3 separate regions of the Homo sapiens genome follow, and regions 1 and 2 are each linked to region 3. The links are contacts of gene promoters, found by promoter capture Hi-C in blood cells and fetal thymus (Javierre and others, 2016). All regions are on one chromosome and are shown on one strand. The core of a region is centred on a gene start or on the middle of the fragment in contact, and the rest is flanking DNA. Distances in the headings are between cores, read along the strand shown.

The links. The method cuts DNA at HindIII sites, captures the fragments that hold promoters and counts their contacts. A CHiCAGO score of 5 or more calls a contact.
Region 1: a fragment that was not itself captured here is called in contact with the fragment with the promoter of COPS6 in region 3 in 1 of 17 cell types (naive CD4 T cells); the score reaches 5.2 in naive CD4 T cells.
Region 2: a contact is called between the fragment with the promoter of GJC3 here and the fragment with the promoter of COPS6 in region 3, in 4 of 17 cell types (naive CD8 T cells, M0 macrophages, non-activated CD4 T cells and 1 more). The highest score is 6.8, in naive CD8 T cells.

Annotation. Positions count from the first base shown.
Region 1 is chr7:99,908,002-99,912,649 of GRCh38, forward strand. TRIM4 (tripartite motif containing 4) reads right to left here. Exons shown (of 6, transcript NM_033091.3): 2 at 1,564-1,659; 3 at 581-811. Among named protein-coding and RNA genes, the nearest start is that of TRIM4, 9.2 kb to the right of the region's middle. The HindIII fragment of the contact is 9,956 bases long and covers 1-4,648 here.
Region 2 is chr7:99,927,895-99,932,561 of GRCh38, forward strand. It overlaps GJC3 (gap junction protein gamma 3), which reads right to left and starts at 1,726. Exons shown (of 2, transcript NM_181538.3): 1 at 946-1,726. The coding sequence starts at 1,726. RefSeq lists enhancers at 939-1,524, 1,525-2,109. The HindIII fragment of the contact is 6,133 bases long and covers 1-1,827 here.
Region 3 is chr7:100,085,588-100,090,585 of GRCh38, forward strand. COPS6 (COP9 signalosome subunit 6) reads left to right here and starts at 3,382. Exons shown (of 10, transcript NM_006833.5): 1 at 3,382-3,479; 2 at 3,703-3,828; 3 at 4,028-4,159; 4 at 4,812-4,900. The coding sequence starts at 3,404. RefSeq lists enhancers at 1,502-2,195, 3,582-4,273, 3,780-4,979 and a silencer at 3,242-3,431. The HindIII fragment of the contact is 8,452 bases long and covers 1,541-4,998 here.

The DNA of each region.
Region 1 (4,648 bases), core at 2,049-4,548, 180 kb before region 3:
AAGGTAAAGATTAACTCAAAGGAGGGGCTTTTGATAACAAACTGGCCTAAAGACCCAAACTTAAGTGCTAAGTTAGAATTATAATCTTTTAAAGGTTGCTAGTCATTGGAAATTATTTAAATGAAAGTACCACTCAAAATATGGGGATAAGAACAAAGTTTTATCAAGCTGTGATTGTAATGATTAAAAATAAGCGAGAAAGTTAAGTGTCTCTTAATTGTTGATAACAGTTATGTACTTGGGAGTTTTATGCTTGCTTTGTTTTATTGTTTAATAATTATAAATGTACACATAAGATGAATGAAAAAAATCTTATATGTGCTAAGTCTCAGATCCTAGATGAACTATGAGACTGTGTGAATCAACTTATCTCCTATGAGCTGAGCTCAGCATACCTACATTTCACATTAATTTCCTTTGAATGGTGAATCTTTGGCTTTTTAGTTATGTGACAGCACAGAACTAGCAAGAGATAAGACATGTCTATGAAACCCACTCACCAGGAAGGACATTCAGCTCTAAAGACAAGAGAGAGTTCAGTTAGTGAAGATGAGATCACCCCCACTCGTAACTGTCTCACCTGAAGCAGCTCCAGGGTGGGAGCCTGGCTCTTCTCCCCCACCTCTAAGATGAGCTTCTTCAATGAAGCGATAGTTTGATTGAGTTTTAACGTGTTCTCATTCAGCTTCTTCTTCGTCTCTTCTTCTTCTTTGTTCAATCTCTGAAGAAACAGGTCCTCTTCTTCAACCAGGAAGTTGTGCAGCTTTGAAAACTCCGTGCTGATTCTCATTCGCTGACTCTTTATCTTATCCTAAGGCCACATGAGATTTGCTCACTCCTTTTTCTGCCTGACCCCAGCTACTAAATTCCTTACACAATTCCCCAGTAATCCACAGTCAATCCTAATCAAACCCTCTTGAAAAGCTCCTGCCCACCCCCACTAAAATTTCCATTACTCCTTTATTTATACCTACTTGATAGCTCTGTCTAGTCATTATAGTATTCATTCATTCTTCCTAACATTTCAGTCTCTACTACTGACAAGTTTTAAACTAAAACAAACTTTCACATCTACTACTTAGTTTAGCCTTCAGAACTCGTTTAGTTTTACCAAATCTTTAGGAGTGTGAGGGTGTGTGTGTGTGTGTGTGTGTGTGCGTGTGTGTGTGCATCCATTCATCTGTTTCTTTCCACAATGCCATGGGCCCAAACCGACTCTAACCTAGGGAGTATATTTAGGAAAAAGTAGGAAGGAGAGGGGTGCTACCTTAAAGTAGAGACATGGGGATGAAGTATGCGGAACTCATTATCACCCAAAGCCACTAGCAGCAGGGACAGGTACTTCCTCTCCTATCCCCGTATCTACAAGGGGCCTGACAACTGAACTGACACCCAGAAAGCTCTTCTTTCAGTCACATGATATGGAGGAAACAGAGGTTCTGAGGCATCCAAGACTCTACGTGAACTGCAAAACCCCATGACCAAAAGGACCTCAGAAGCAAGAAATGTCCCAGACCAAAAGGACCTCAGGAGCAAGAAATATCCAACCACTTCTGCCATTACCTTCCACTGTGTGGCGTTCTTCACTTCTACATCCTGTAAATGCATGACTTTCTTCATCTTGGCCACGAGATTACGCTGAGACTTAAGAAGTTTCTCCTGCCAGCAGAAACACACACAGGTAAGAAAACACATCTCCAACCATCATCATCTTCTTTTTTCTTTTTGTTTTTTTTTTTTTTTTTTTTTGAGACAAAGTCTCACTTTGTCACCCAGGTTAGACTGCAGCGGCCTGATCATGGCTCACTACAGCCTCAGCATCCCAAGCTCAAGTGATCCTCCCACCTCAGCCTCCCAAGTAGCTGGACTACAGGCATGCTCCGTCAGGTCCAACTAATTTTTTTATGTTTCGTAGAGACAAAGTCTCCCTATGTTGCCCAGGCTGGTCTTGAACTCCTGGGCTCAACAGATCCTCCCACCTCAGCCTCCCAAAGTGCTGGGATTACAGCCATGAGCCACCACGCCTGGCAACTTCATTTTTTAAGAGCTAAAAGTCACCTAATCAAAACAGAGAATGAGATTGAAAAAATGCTGAAGACGGTCACAGGCCTATGATAAGAACTATTCTGGTCTGAAATCATCACAACACTATATTGAGTTTTCCTGGTAAGTTAGCAAAAACTAAAAACTGTTAGAAGATTAGCAAATATCTACTACTGGCAGAGAGAAGGCCTCTGGCACCACAGGAGATTAAAAACGTGCCTTTTTTTGATGGACAACTGGCAGGATTTAACAAAATTTTAAATGGGTATAATGCTACTTCTAATAATCTATGCAACAAAACACTAGCAAAAATAACCAATATGTAAAGAAATGGTCACTATAGCATTATTCATTATCCACTAATTAGGAATTATTAAATAAATTATGTTATATTGATACTTTGCATCAATTTCAGGTAGCTGTCTATATATTGACATGAAATACACAATAAGTTGAAAGCAAGCCATAAGACAATATGTATTGTACAATTCTGTTTTGAAAAGAATAAACGTGTCTATGCGCATACGTGTTTATCTATGTGTGTGTATTTGTATGTGAAAGCAAGGGAAATCTGGAAGGATGTATACCCAAGTATTAACATTGGTGACTTCCAAGGAAAAAGAATGGCTTACGAATTTGGAGGTGGGGTACTAGAAATTTTATGCATTTTTGCTTTAATTTCTACAAGTGGCATATGCCATTTTTGTAATTTAAAAACCCGAGTAAGTTATTAAAAAATAAAGCAAGTCAATCAACATTGACAAATTGGGCTGAGGGGCAGCACCCGATAGTAGGATGTCAGCTGCGAGTGCAGAGATGGAAGCAGAAATGTTAGAGAAACACACAAGAGAAAAACCCACAGGAACTGATGATCAAATGGCTGCAGGAGGAAAGGGTCCAGATTTAGCCCCTCAGTTGTGGTTTAAGTAACTGGATGGACTGCAGGTTATTTATCAAATTAGAAAATATAGGAAGAAGAGCAGTGTGTAAATGGGAGGAAGGAAAATAAATTTCACCTAAATAAATTGAGTCTGAGATGCCTGTGGGACATCCAAGTGGATATGTTAGCAATTAGAGTTGGGAAGGAGATCTATGCTGCAGAAGCAGATTTCGGGATTAAAGCACAGGTGGCAGTTGGAGCCTTGGGTGAGCGTAAAATCACCCAGTAAGATTCTATAGAGTAAGAGGATCAAGGCTAGAACTGGCAACAACTACATTTAAGCAGTATGTAGAAAATAAAAATCCTGCAAAGAAGCTAAGGTGAGCAGTTGGTGAAAAACCAAGAGAGAATGGTTTCTCCTATGCCAAAGGAAGAGACCATTTAAATTACAAAACTAGTGAATAGTGTCAAATGCTGGAGGGTGGCCTGGGCAACTTTCTGTAAGTCTCACTATATGTCAAAATAAACAAAAAATTAAAAAAATTAAAAATAAATTTAAAAAACTAAAAGAAAAGAAATGATTAGAACTAAAAAATAATCTGTACAACTTTTTAAATTCTTCCCCAGAAAACTAACAATTACTAATAGGTATAACTTTTCATCCAATCATTTACAAGTGACAATGGTTAAAATCAAGTTAAATAACTGACAAGGTTGATAACATCAAAGTTGGCAAGGGTATGGAGCAACTGGAACTCTTACACAACATTAGCAGGCGAATGAAATGCTACCACCATTTTGGAAGAAGGTTCAGTGTAAAACTAAACATACATTAATCCTAGGGTACAGCAATTCTACTCCTAGACCCTGGAAAAATGAAAACATGTACCCATAAATAGACCTGTACAAGAATATTCATCGCAGCTTTATTCACAATAGCTAGAAGCTGGAAACAGTCCAGGTATTCATTGATAGGAAGGTGGATAAATAATGGCAAAAACCGCAATTACATTTGCACCAACCTATACAAAAATGGATAAATCTCAAAATCAATATGCTGAGCAAAAGGATCCATACAGACAATGGAATTCCATTTATATGAAGTTCTGGAACAGGCAAAACCTAATTTGTGTTTGAAAAAAAATCAGAACGGTGGTTGCCCTGGTAGGGGAAGGGTGCAGAGAATAACTGGGAAAGGGCATGAAAGAATTCTCTGGATGGTAATATCCTTTATCTTGAGAAGGGCATTTGTCAAAGCTCAGCAAATGTACAACTAAGATTTGTGTTTTTCATGGTATTAAATTTTACCTCAAAAAATACCATAGGCCAGGCACGGTGGCTCACGCCTGTAACCCCAGCATTTTGGGAGGCCAAGGCAGGTGGACAGCTTGAGGCCAAGAGTTCGAGACCAGCCTGGGCAACATGGTGAAACCCTGTCTCTACTAAAATACAAAAGAAATAGCCAGGTGTGGTGGCACAAGCCTGTAATCCAGCTACTTGGGAGGCTGAGGCATGAGAATCGCTTGAACCCAGAGGCAAAGGTTTCAGTGAGCCGAGATCACACCACTGCACTCCAGCCTGGGTAACAGAATGAGACTCTACATATTAAAAAAAAAAAATAATACCATAAACAAATGTTAAATCTGGTTAATGATATACATGCTGAAGTATTTTGTTTGCAATTGAATTTTAAAAGCATCAAAAGGAAATAAGAATTGATGTATT
Region 2 (4,667 bases), core at 476-2,975, 160 kb before region 3:
CGAGAACTGCAGAAATGAAGAATGAGAATTGAGCAGAAATCAGAGCTATCAGTGATCAAGGGGGCCTAAGCCCCTGAATTCACAGTAATTTTCCTTAAGGATATGGCCGGGTATTTGGATAAATCTATAGATATTAGAGGACACTGACTTATATATGCTTGAAGCCCAGAGTTTCTGGCTTATGACATGTGCTGCAGGTCTGAGGGGCATTCATTTACAAAACTTTGATGATAAGGGGAGCAGAGAATGTGGAAAAACAGAAAAGAGGTAAATGAAGCCAGTGAGACAGGAAGGGGCATTATCTTCAGCAACAGGAATGCCAACAGCAGTCATCAATATTTATTGAGCAGGACAGGGGAGAGACACAGTTTAGGGAGGCTTCTCCCGGCTGACTCTTGAACCAAGCCCATAAAAATTGTGATGCTGACACCAGAAAATTCCAGTGAAAAGGCACAGTCAGGAAATGCTTTAGACTACATGGCCCAAGGGGCCCTTAGAGATCCTTCAACAGCCTCTAATTTGTCACAGACATGAATCCCCACTCACTGGATGTTGGAAAGAAGATTCAATCACAGAGTTTCCTTCAGGCAAGTCAGGTGTCTTTATAACTCTGCAAAGTAGAGAATCAAGAAGAAGCTGAGATTTTTCCTAAGTGGAGAGAGACCTAAATGGAAGTTCAGGAGGGACAACGGACTAGCACTCTTGTCCTTGTTCGCTGGAAGGAACCATCAAGTTGATGGGGATGGACATTGGGATAGATTTTGAGAGCAAGAGAGAACAAAGAAAAGGGTTGGGAGTGGCGGTCAGAACACATCTGCCTAGAACCTGGTTACCTACTTTGTAACATGCAGAAGTTGTACTTCCCAGAAAGGTGAGGGACCTGCCCCGGGAGGAGATCATCAGGACACAAACATCAGTGACAGGAAGAGAGCGTGTCCTTCTCACCTGCTTCTTGAAATTGCTCTTTGGTTTCCACCACTGGGAGGCTATCGGTTGCTTTCTTGTGTCTTCTGGTGCTCTCTGAAGTTAGGAAGTATTTAGAAGAGGAAGATTTGTGCTTCCAGGTCCTCCACCATCTCCCCAAACCCAGAAGCACAAGCTCCAAAAAAGTAAACAAGAGACAGAAACCGCTGACTCCAAACATGGTCTTTAGGAAAATGGTCTTCTCAGAGGGGCGGGACAGATTGCAGGTTATACTACCAAGGCAAGGTTCTCGGCGACATGCAAAGGAGCTGGGCATCTGGAACCCATACAGGTGGTACTGCAACCCCAGGGCTGCCCCCTCCAGGACAAGCCGAGCCCCCAGCTGAGCCACATAAGCCCAGAGCAGCCTGAGGCTTCCAGCCCCTGGGACATCTGTGTTGCCCTCCCGTCCCTGGATCAGGGTCTCCTCCTCCTTCCCCTTTCCTGATAATTCCCAGTGCCAGATCACGTGATACAGAGTGAAACCCATATAGAGGGCGCTGGGTACAGCCACCAAGATGACCTGGAAGACCCAGAAACGCAGCGGGGAGAGGGGGTGGAAGGCATCGAAGCAGGCAGCCTTGCAGCCCGGCTGCTGGGTGTGACACACGAATTCACTCTGCTCATCACCATAGACTCCAGGCCCACTGGCAGCCAGCAGCACAAGGCGGAATCCCAGGAGCACGGGAAGCAAGAGGCGCCCCACGGGGGTGGAGCGCCGGCTCTCCTCCGCCAGCAGCCGCCGCAGGAACCTGCCACACATCCTGTTTTGGAGCAGAGGACAAGAGATCAGTGTTGTTCACTGTCCTTCAGAGGGAGCTCCAGTCCACCTTGTCACTCCTAATCCAAGGATCACTGAAGGCAAGCTTTTTTATTCCTCTCCAAGTATCTGACTGATTAAATACCAAGACTCTGATTGCACCTCTTTACTACTTAATGAAATCATCTATGTAAAATAATAACAGTGAGTGTGTGTGGTGTGGCTCTCTCTTCTGCCCTCCCCTTCTGTACTGCTGGAGTGGAGAGGAACTCTCAGGTTGGAGAGACCAGGATACATCTTCATCTCTCTCTTTCCCTCCTTCCCTCCGTCTCTCTTTCCCAAAGGCTGAACGTAAGAGAGTAGACTGGGATGTTTTGTTAATTTTCCTTTGAAAGGTATTGCTTCCCCAGCTGATGGCTGCCAGGCCTGGTGCTCCTACAGCATCATCTTAAGCAAATTAGTGCTGATGCTGAGAGGGAATGTGCATTCTCTTGCGGTCTTCTTTTCTCTTCCTCCATGCCCTTGGATGATCACAGGTGTGTCTGGATGTCCTCTTCTCCCATCACAGTGGTAAAGTTGAGAGGTAGTTAGGTTATGGGGCTAGATGTGATGGATGAAATGAACAGAGCAAGCATCGAGGCTTGCTTTAGTCTGATGCTCTTAGGCCTTACAAGCTGAGGAAGAAGAGAACATTTGGAAGGTAACCCAGCAGAATTTACCAGAATTACATACTATAGGATTTGGGGCCAGAGCCAGAACTGACTAGATAGAAATTCAGATTTTTGACCCCCACTTGCCATTGTTCCTTGGGCATATTATCTCCCTCATGGTGACAGGCGACCATGATCAAGGATAAGTTTCAGAAATCCCTCTGTTCCCCAGCCAAAATACCACAATGCTACAAGCCCAAGTTCACCATCTCTATATTTGTCCTAATCAGCTGCCTTCCCCAATGCCCAGCAGCTGTTTCAAACCGTCCCCATTTAGCCTAAATTCTCACTCATCTGGTTACCCTCACACTCAGAAGACCATGTGGTATGGTCTGAATGATGATCAAGATGCATATGCTAGAACCTAATACAGTAGTCCCCCCTCTTATCTGCGATTTCACTTTCTACAGTTTCAGTTACCCACAGTCAACAGAGGTCCAAAAATATTAAATGGAAAATTCCAGAAATACAAAATTAATGTTTTAAATTGTGTGCTGTTCTGAGTAGCACTATGAAATCTCACACCATCCCACCCAGGATGTGAATCATCCCTTTGTCCAGGGTATCCAACGCTGTAGACGCTCCTTGCTGGTTTGTGACTTAATCGCCATTTTGGTTATCAGATCAACTATCAATACTCGTTCAAGTAACTCTTATTTTACTTAAGAATAGCCCCAAAAAGCAAGAGTAGTGATGCCAGCATATTGTTACAATTGTTCCAGTTGTTCTATTTCTTTTTTTTTTTTTTTTTTTTTGAGACGGACTCTCGCTCTGTCACCAGGCTGGAGTGCACTGGCACGATCTTGGCTCGCTGCAATCTCTGCCTCCCAGGTTCAAGCAATTCCCCTGCCTCAGCCTGCTGAGTAGCTGGGACTATAGGGGCGCACCACCACGCCGGGCTAATTTTTTGTATTTTAGTAGAAACAGGGTCACTATGTTGGCCGGGATGGTCTCAGTCTCCTGACCTTGTGATCCACCTGCCTCGGCCTCCCAAAGTGCTGGGATTACAGGCATGAGCCACCATGCCCAGCCACAATTGTTCTATTTTCTTAGTAGTTATTGTTGTTAATCTCTTACTGTGCTAATTTGTAATTAAACTTTATCATAGGGATGTACATATGGGGAAAAAAAACATAGTATATATGGAGTTTGGTACTATCCACAATTTCAGGCATCCACTGGAGGTCTTGGAACATATCTCCCACAGATAAGGTGGAAGTGCTGTACTCAATGTGATAGTATTAAGAGGTGGAAAGGTGGAAGTGCTGTACTCAGTGTGATAGTACTAAGAGGTGGAGCCCTTACCAAGTGTCTTAGTCCATTTTGTGTTGCCACAAAGGAGAACCTGAGGCTGGGTGATTTATAAAGAGGTTTATTTGACTCACAGCTCTGCAGCCTGCACATCTGCTTAGCTTCTGTTGAGGGTTTCCATACTGTGTCAAAACATGGCAGGGAAGGTCAAAGGGGAAGAGGGACCAAACCCAAGGGGCATCCTGGCTTTACAACAACCCACTCTTGAGGGAACTAATCCATTCCCTCAAGAATGAATCCAGTTTCACAGAAGCGATAACCCACTCACTGCCACAAGAATGGCACCAAGTTATTCATGAGGAATCTGCCCCCAGGACCCAAACACCTCCCCCTAGACCCCACCTCCCAACACCATCAAACTATAGGGATTAAATTACAACATGAGATTTGGTGGGAACAAACAAACTGTATCAAACCAGAGGTGATTAAGCCTTGAGGAAAGAACCTTCATGAATGAGATTAGTGCTCTTATAAAAGATGCTCCAGGGAGCCCCTCCATCCCTTCCCACTGTGTGAGGATACACAAGAGGTGCCATCTAAGAGGAACAAGCCCTTGCCAGACACTGAATCTGCTGGTGCCTGGATCGTGGACTTCTCAGCCTCCAGAACTTTGAGAAATAAATATCTCTTATTTATGAATTACCCTCTCTAAGGTATTTTGTTATAGTAGCCCAAACAGACTAAGACACCACGAAAACCTCTTACTCCAAAGAGAAAATAGAGACACTGATGTGAAACCCCACAGATACTACTTTCTCTTATCTTAATATTTACTTCCTTTTCTAACATTGTAGAGAAAGAAGTGGACCTACAGTTATCCAAGTTTACTCTGCCTTCCAAATCTGTGTCCTTGGGTCTCATCTTTCCTGCTTCTTCAAGGATTTGTTCCCCAAATTATCTTCCCTGTAATTTGGACTTCCCCT
Region 3 (4,998 bases), core at 2,132-4,631:
TTTTAACTTCCCTTTGGCGAGAAGACCCCTCTTCCTGCAGGATTTCTCAAGTCCGTTCCATTGAGGGTTGCTGGCCCCTTCAAGTTTCCTTCATCCAGGCTCCTAAACGGAGAGATTGCATAATTCCCCTGTAAATTACAACTATCACCATATGGGGCTGTTCAGGGTCATAACACAGTTCTTCACCTGCTTTCTAGGAGCTTACACTTTGGGTGGGGATACAGACACCTAGAGCCAGAGTATGTCTGGCTCTTTCTAGGTGTCTGTACCCCTCTTTGTAGGGGTGGCAGGAGGAGCAGTGTGTGCAACTTGCTTAGGTTTAGGGGTAAGGAGGGGGTGGAGCAGCCTAGGCTAGCCAGATGTGAATTTTGGGTTTTTTTATGAGACAGAGTCTTGCTTTGTCAACCAGGCTGGAGTGTGGTGGTGTGATCTCGGCTCGCTGCAACCTCCGCCTCCCGGGTTCAAGTGATTCTCCTCCCTCAGCCTCTCGAGTAGCTGGGATTACAGGCATGCACCACCACGCCTGGCTAATTTTTGTATTTTTAGTAGAGATGGGGTTTCACCATCTCTACTGGTCGAGACCAGGCTGGTCTTGAACTCCTGACTTCAGGTGATTCACCCACCTCGGCCTCCCAAAGTGCTGAGATTACAAGCATAAGCCACTGTGCCTGGCCAGGAACTCAGTATTTAAGGGAAGAAAGCATGCAAGAGGAAAATAAGGAAGAAGGAGAGGCAGTGAGGCAAATGTTTTTTGTTTTGTTTTGTTTTGTTTTTCTTAAGACAGTGTCTCGCTCTGTCAGCAGGCTGGAGTGCAGTGGCGCAATCTCGGCTCACTGCAACCGCTGCCTCCCAGGTTCAAGCGATTCTTGTGCCTCAGCCTCCCAAGTAGCTGGTACTACAGGTGCGTGTCACCATGCCCAGCTAATATTTTGTATTTTTAGTAGAGACGGGGTTTCACAGTGTTAGCCAGGATAGTCTCAATCTCTTGACCTTGTGATCTGCCTGCCTCGGCCTCCCAAAGTGCTGGGATTACAGGCGTGAGCCACTGCACCCAGTCCAGCAAATGGTTATTTTATTTTATTTTTTGAAATAGAGTCTCAATCTGTTGCCCAGGCTGGAGTCCAGTGGGTCCATCTCGGCTCACTGCAATCTCCACCTCCTAGGCTCAAGTGATTCTCCTGCCTCAGCCTCCCAAGTAGCTGAGATTACAGGTGGGCACCACCACACCCAGCTAATTTTTGTATTTTTAGTAAAGATGGGGTTTTGCCATGTTGGCCAGGCTGGTCTTGAACTCCTGGCCTCAAGTGATCCACTCGCTTCCCAAAGTGCTGCGATTACAGGCATGAGCCACTGCACACCCTGCTGCACATTGTTACTTTTTTGTGAGTTTCTCATTAGTGTTCAGTAAATCTACATTTTATGTAAGATACAATAAACATTTGAAAAGAGGGAGTGGAGGAAAAAGTCAGTTATGCATCTGTCTCAGGATAGGTGGAGGGATGATTCCTGGTCTCTTCCTTGTTCTATAATTGGGAAGATAAGCTTGTAATCAACATTGTCAGTATGAGATTTCACAGAACTCGGATTAGGGCTGGTTTATAGGGGGAATGTTTATGCTGAAAGATTCAGAGGCTAATGAGGAATTTCCTGGCAAGCAATTTGTGAGGAAGACCATCTGGGGAGGTATATGCCTTTTGCCATTGTAGGAGCCTGGCTTATGTATGAGGCTATGACACAGGGTTGTGGAATTACAGCTATCTGGGAACAAAAAGGAAGGGAGTTTTGACTCACTTCCCAAGCATAAATTTCCTCGGCATGCCTCTACCATACCCAGCGAATTTTGTTTCCATGTTTTGTTGAAACAAGGTGTCACCATGTTGCCAAGGCTGGTCTCAAACTCCTGGGTTCAAGTGATCCTCCAACCTTGGCCTCCCAAAGTGCTAGGATTACAGGCGTGAGTCACCATGCCTGGCCTTGTGGAGTTATCTTCTTTCTTTCTTTCTTTCTTTCTTTTTTTTTTTTTTTTGAGATGGAGTCTCACTTTGTCTTGCCCGGGCTGGAGTGCAGTGGCGCGATCGCAGCTCACTGCAGCTTCCACCTCCCGGGTTCAAGCAATTCTCCTGCCTCAGGCTCCTGAGTAGCTGGGATTACAGGCGCCTGCCACCACGCCTGGCTAATTTTTGTATTTTTAGTAGAGATGGGGTTTCACCATGTTGGCTAGGCTCGTCTCAAACTGCTGACCTCAAGTGATTGTCTGGCCTCGGTCTCCCAAAATGCTGGTATTACAGGTGTGAGCCACCATGCCTGGCCTTGTGGGGTTATTTTCGAAAGTCCTTGAGATAATTCCTATCTCAGACATGCAAGCATGAGACCTTCTCCTTGGTGTTCTCATGGCTCCAATTTGTTTGGACCTGACAATGTGATTTTGTCCTGGTATCTGCAACTTTCACAAGATGGAGCAACTAACTCAACACCAGATTCCACCCCTAATTATTCCTTCATTCACTCAAAAAGTATCTAGGCTCCAATGTGTCAGGCACCGTGTTGGTCACAGGGGATACCATGATGAACAAGAGAAGGAACCACAGGCTTTTGAATGGGAAACTAAAGCATGTGAAAAACACACGGAGAGCTGGGTGCGGTGGCTCATGCCTGTAATCCCAGTGCTTTGGGAGGCTGAGGATGGAGGATCTCTTCTGCCCGGGAGTTGGAGACCAGCCTGGACAACCTAGTGAGACCCCCGTCTCTATCAAAATAAAAACAAATAATAAAATTAGCTGGGTGCGGTGGGGTGCGCCTGTAGTCCCAGCTACTCGGGAGGCTGAACTGGGAGGATCACTTGAGCCCAGGAGTTTGAGGGTGCAGTGAGCTGACATCAGGCCACTGCACTCCAGCCTGGGCGACAGAGCGAGACCCTGTCTCAAACAAAACAAAACAAACCACCACCACCACCAGACATGAGGGCCAGTGCAGCTGAAGCCTGAAGATCAAGGGCTAGAAGAGGCCAGGCCGGGGCCAGATCAGGCAGGGCCTTGCAGGTTGTGGTTAGTTGTTTGGATTTTATTGTGAGGGAAATAACACGACATGTCATTCCTTCTGCAACAGCCTTAAGAACTAGGCGTTCTTATCCCAATTTCACAGACGAGGACGATCAAGTCGTTAATTTGTCAAAGGTCACCCGCAGGCGACAGGCGGGGACAGGGTCTGGGAAAACCCGCTAGGCACCGAGGCCCAGAGGGCGTCGGGCGTCCCCGCACCGAGTGCCGCCCGCCGCGACCCGGGAACTGCCTGCTCCCCGGACGCCAGGCCCGCCGCACGCCGCGGGGACACCGAACATGCGCCGCTCGCCTTACGGAAGCCGGGAAGGAAGGGGGCGGGGCCGAGGCTGGCGGGCGCGGGGAAAATGGCGGCGGCGGCGGCGGCGGCTGCAGCTACGAACGGGACCGGAGGAAGCAGCGGGATGGAGGTGGATGCAGCAGGTAACGGGCCGTGCGGGGGTGGCTTCCGGAGACCTCCTTCAGGGGTTCGTTGAGGCCTCCCTGTGCTCCCGGGAGAAGGGAGGAGGGCGGAGCAGCAACATCTTTCCCTGGGATAAGTTACGGGAGGAAAGTGTGGCCCGGGCTCCGCCGTCCCCCACTGCCATCTCCAGGGAAGAACGTGGGGCCCGGACTCTCACCCTCTCTCCTTTCCCTCCACCCTTAGTAGTCCCCAGCGTGATGGCCTGCGGAGTGACTGGGAGTGTTTCCGTCGCTCTCCATCCCCTTGTCATTCTCAACATCTCAGACCACTGGATCCGCATGCGCTCCCAGGAGGGGCGGCCTGTGCAGGGTGAGTGTTGGGCATAGACTCCAGTCTCTTCTCCTTGCTCACCTCCCCCAGGCAGTGGTCTTTTCCCCTTCCTCTACTGGAGCCAATTCCCCCTCCCCCAAATCATCGTTTCCCCAATACATGGTTCCCACTGATCTCAGACCCTCAGGTCATAGAAGTTTCTTTACCCTCACCTTTTCCATGTCATTCTCTTTCCCAGTGATTGGGGCTCTGATTGGCAAGCAGGAGGGCCGAAATATCGAGGTGATGAACTCCTTTGAGCTGCTGTCCCACACCGTGGAAGAGAAGATTATCATTGACAAGGAATATTATTACACCAAGGAGGAGCAGTGTGAGAGTGGAATAGATGTGGGGAAGAGGAGTGGGAGTTAAAAAAAAAATGTACAGGGTGGGGAAGATGGAGAGGGTTGGAAAGAAACAGGAGAGGAGACCAAGAACAGGGGAGAAAAAGTGAAGAGTAGCTGGAGAGATCTCAGAAAAAGAAAACGTTCAGAGTTCTTTCTCAAAAGAAAGCAAAGGATGAGAGGAGACAGGATAGAAGGGAGTAGTTATTCTAAACTGAGCCAGGATTTGAGGAGGGAGGAGAGAAGCTGGTGAAAATACACCAGGAGCTTCACATTGAGGAAGGATGGTTTAAAGAATTACTATGTCAGGCCGGGCTCAGTGACTCATGCCTCTAATCCCAGCACTTTGGGAGGCCGAGGTGGGTGGATCATGAGGTCAGGAGTTCAAGACCAGCCTGGCAAACATAGTGAAACCCCACCTCTACTAAAAATACAAAAATTAGTCTGGCATGGTGGTGCGTGCCTGTAGTCCCAGCTACGCGGGATGCTGAGGCAGGAGAATTGCTTGAACCTGGGAGGCGGAGGTTGTGGTGAGCTGAGATCATGCCACTGCACTCCAGCCTGGGCAACAGAGCGAGATTCCGTCTCAGAAAAAAAAAAAAAAAGAATTACTATATGTTCTGGCCCCTTCCCCTCTAGTTAAACAGGTGTTCAAGGAGCTGGAGTTTCTGGGTTGGTATACCACAGGGGGGCCACCTGACCCCTCGGACATCCACGTCCATAAGCAGGTATGCATGCTCACACCTGTGCATGCTGGGGCAGAGAATGGAGAATGAGGGGAAGGAGAAAGGTAGGGGGCACTGACTTCCTGTGCATTGTCCCTCTC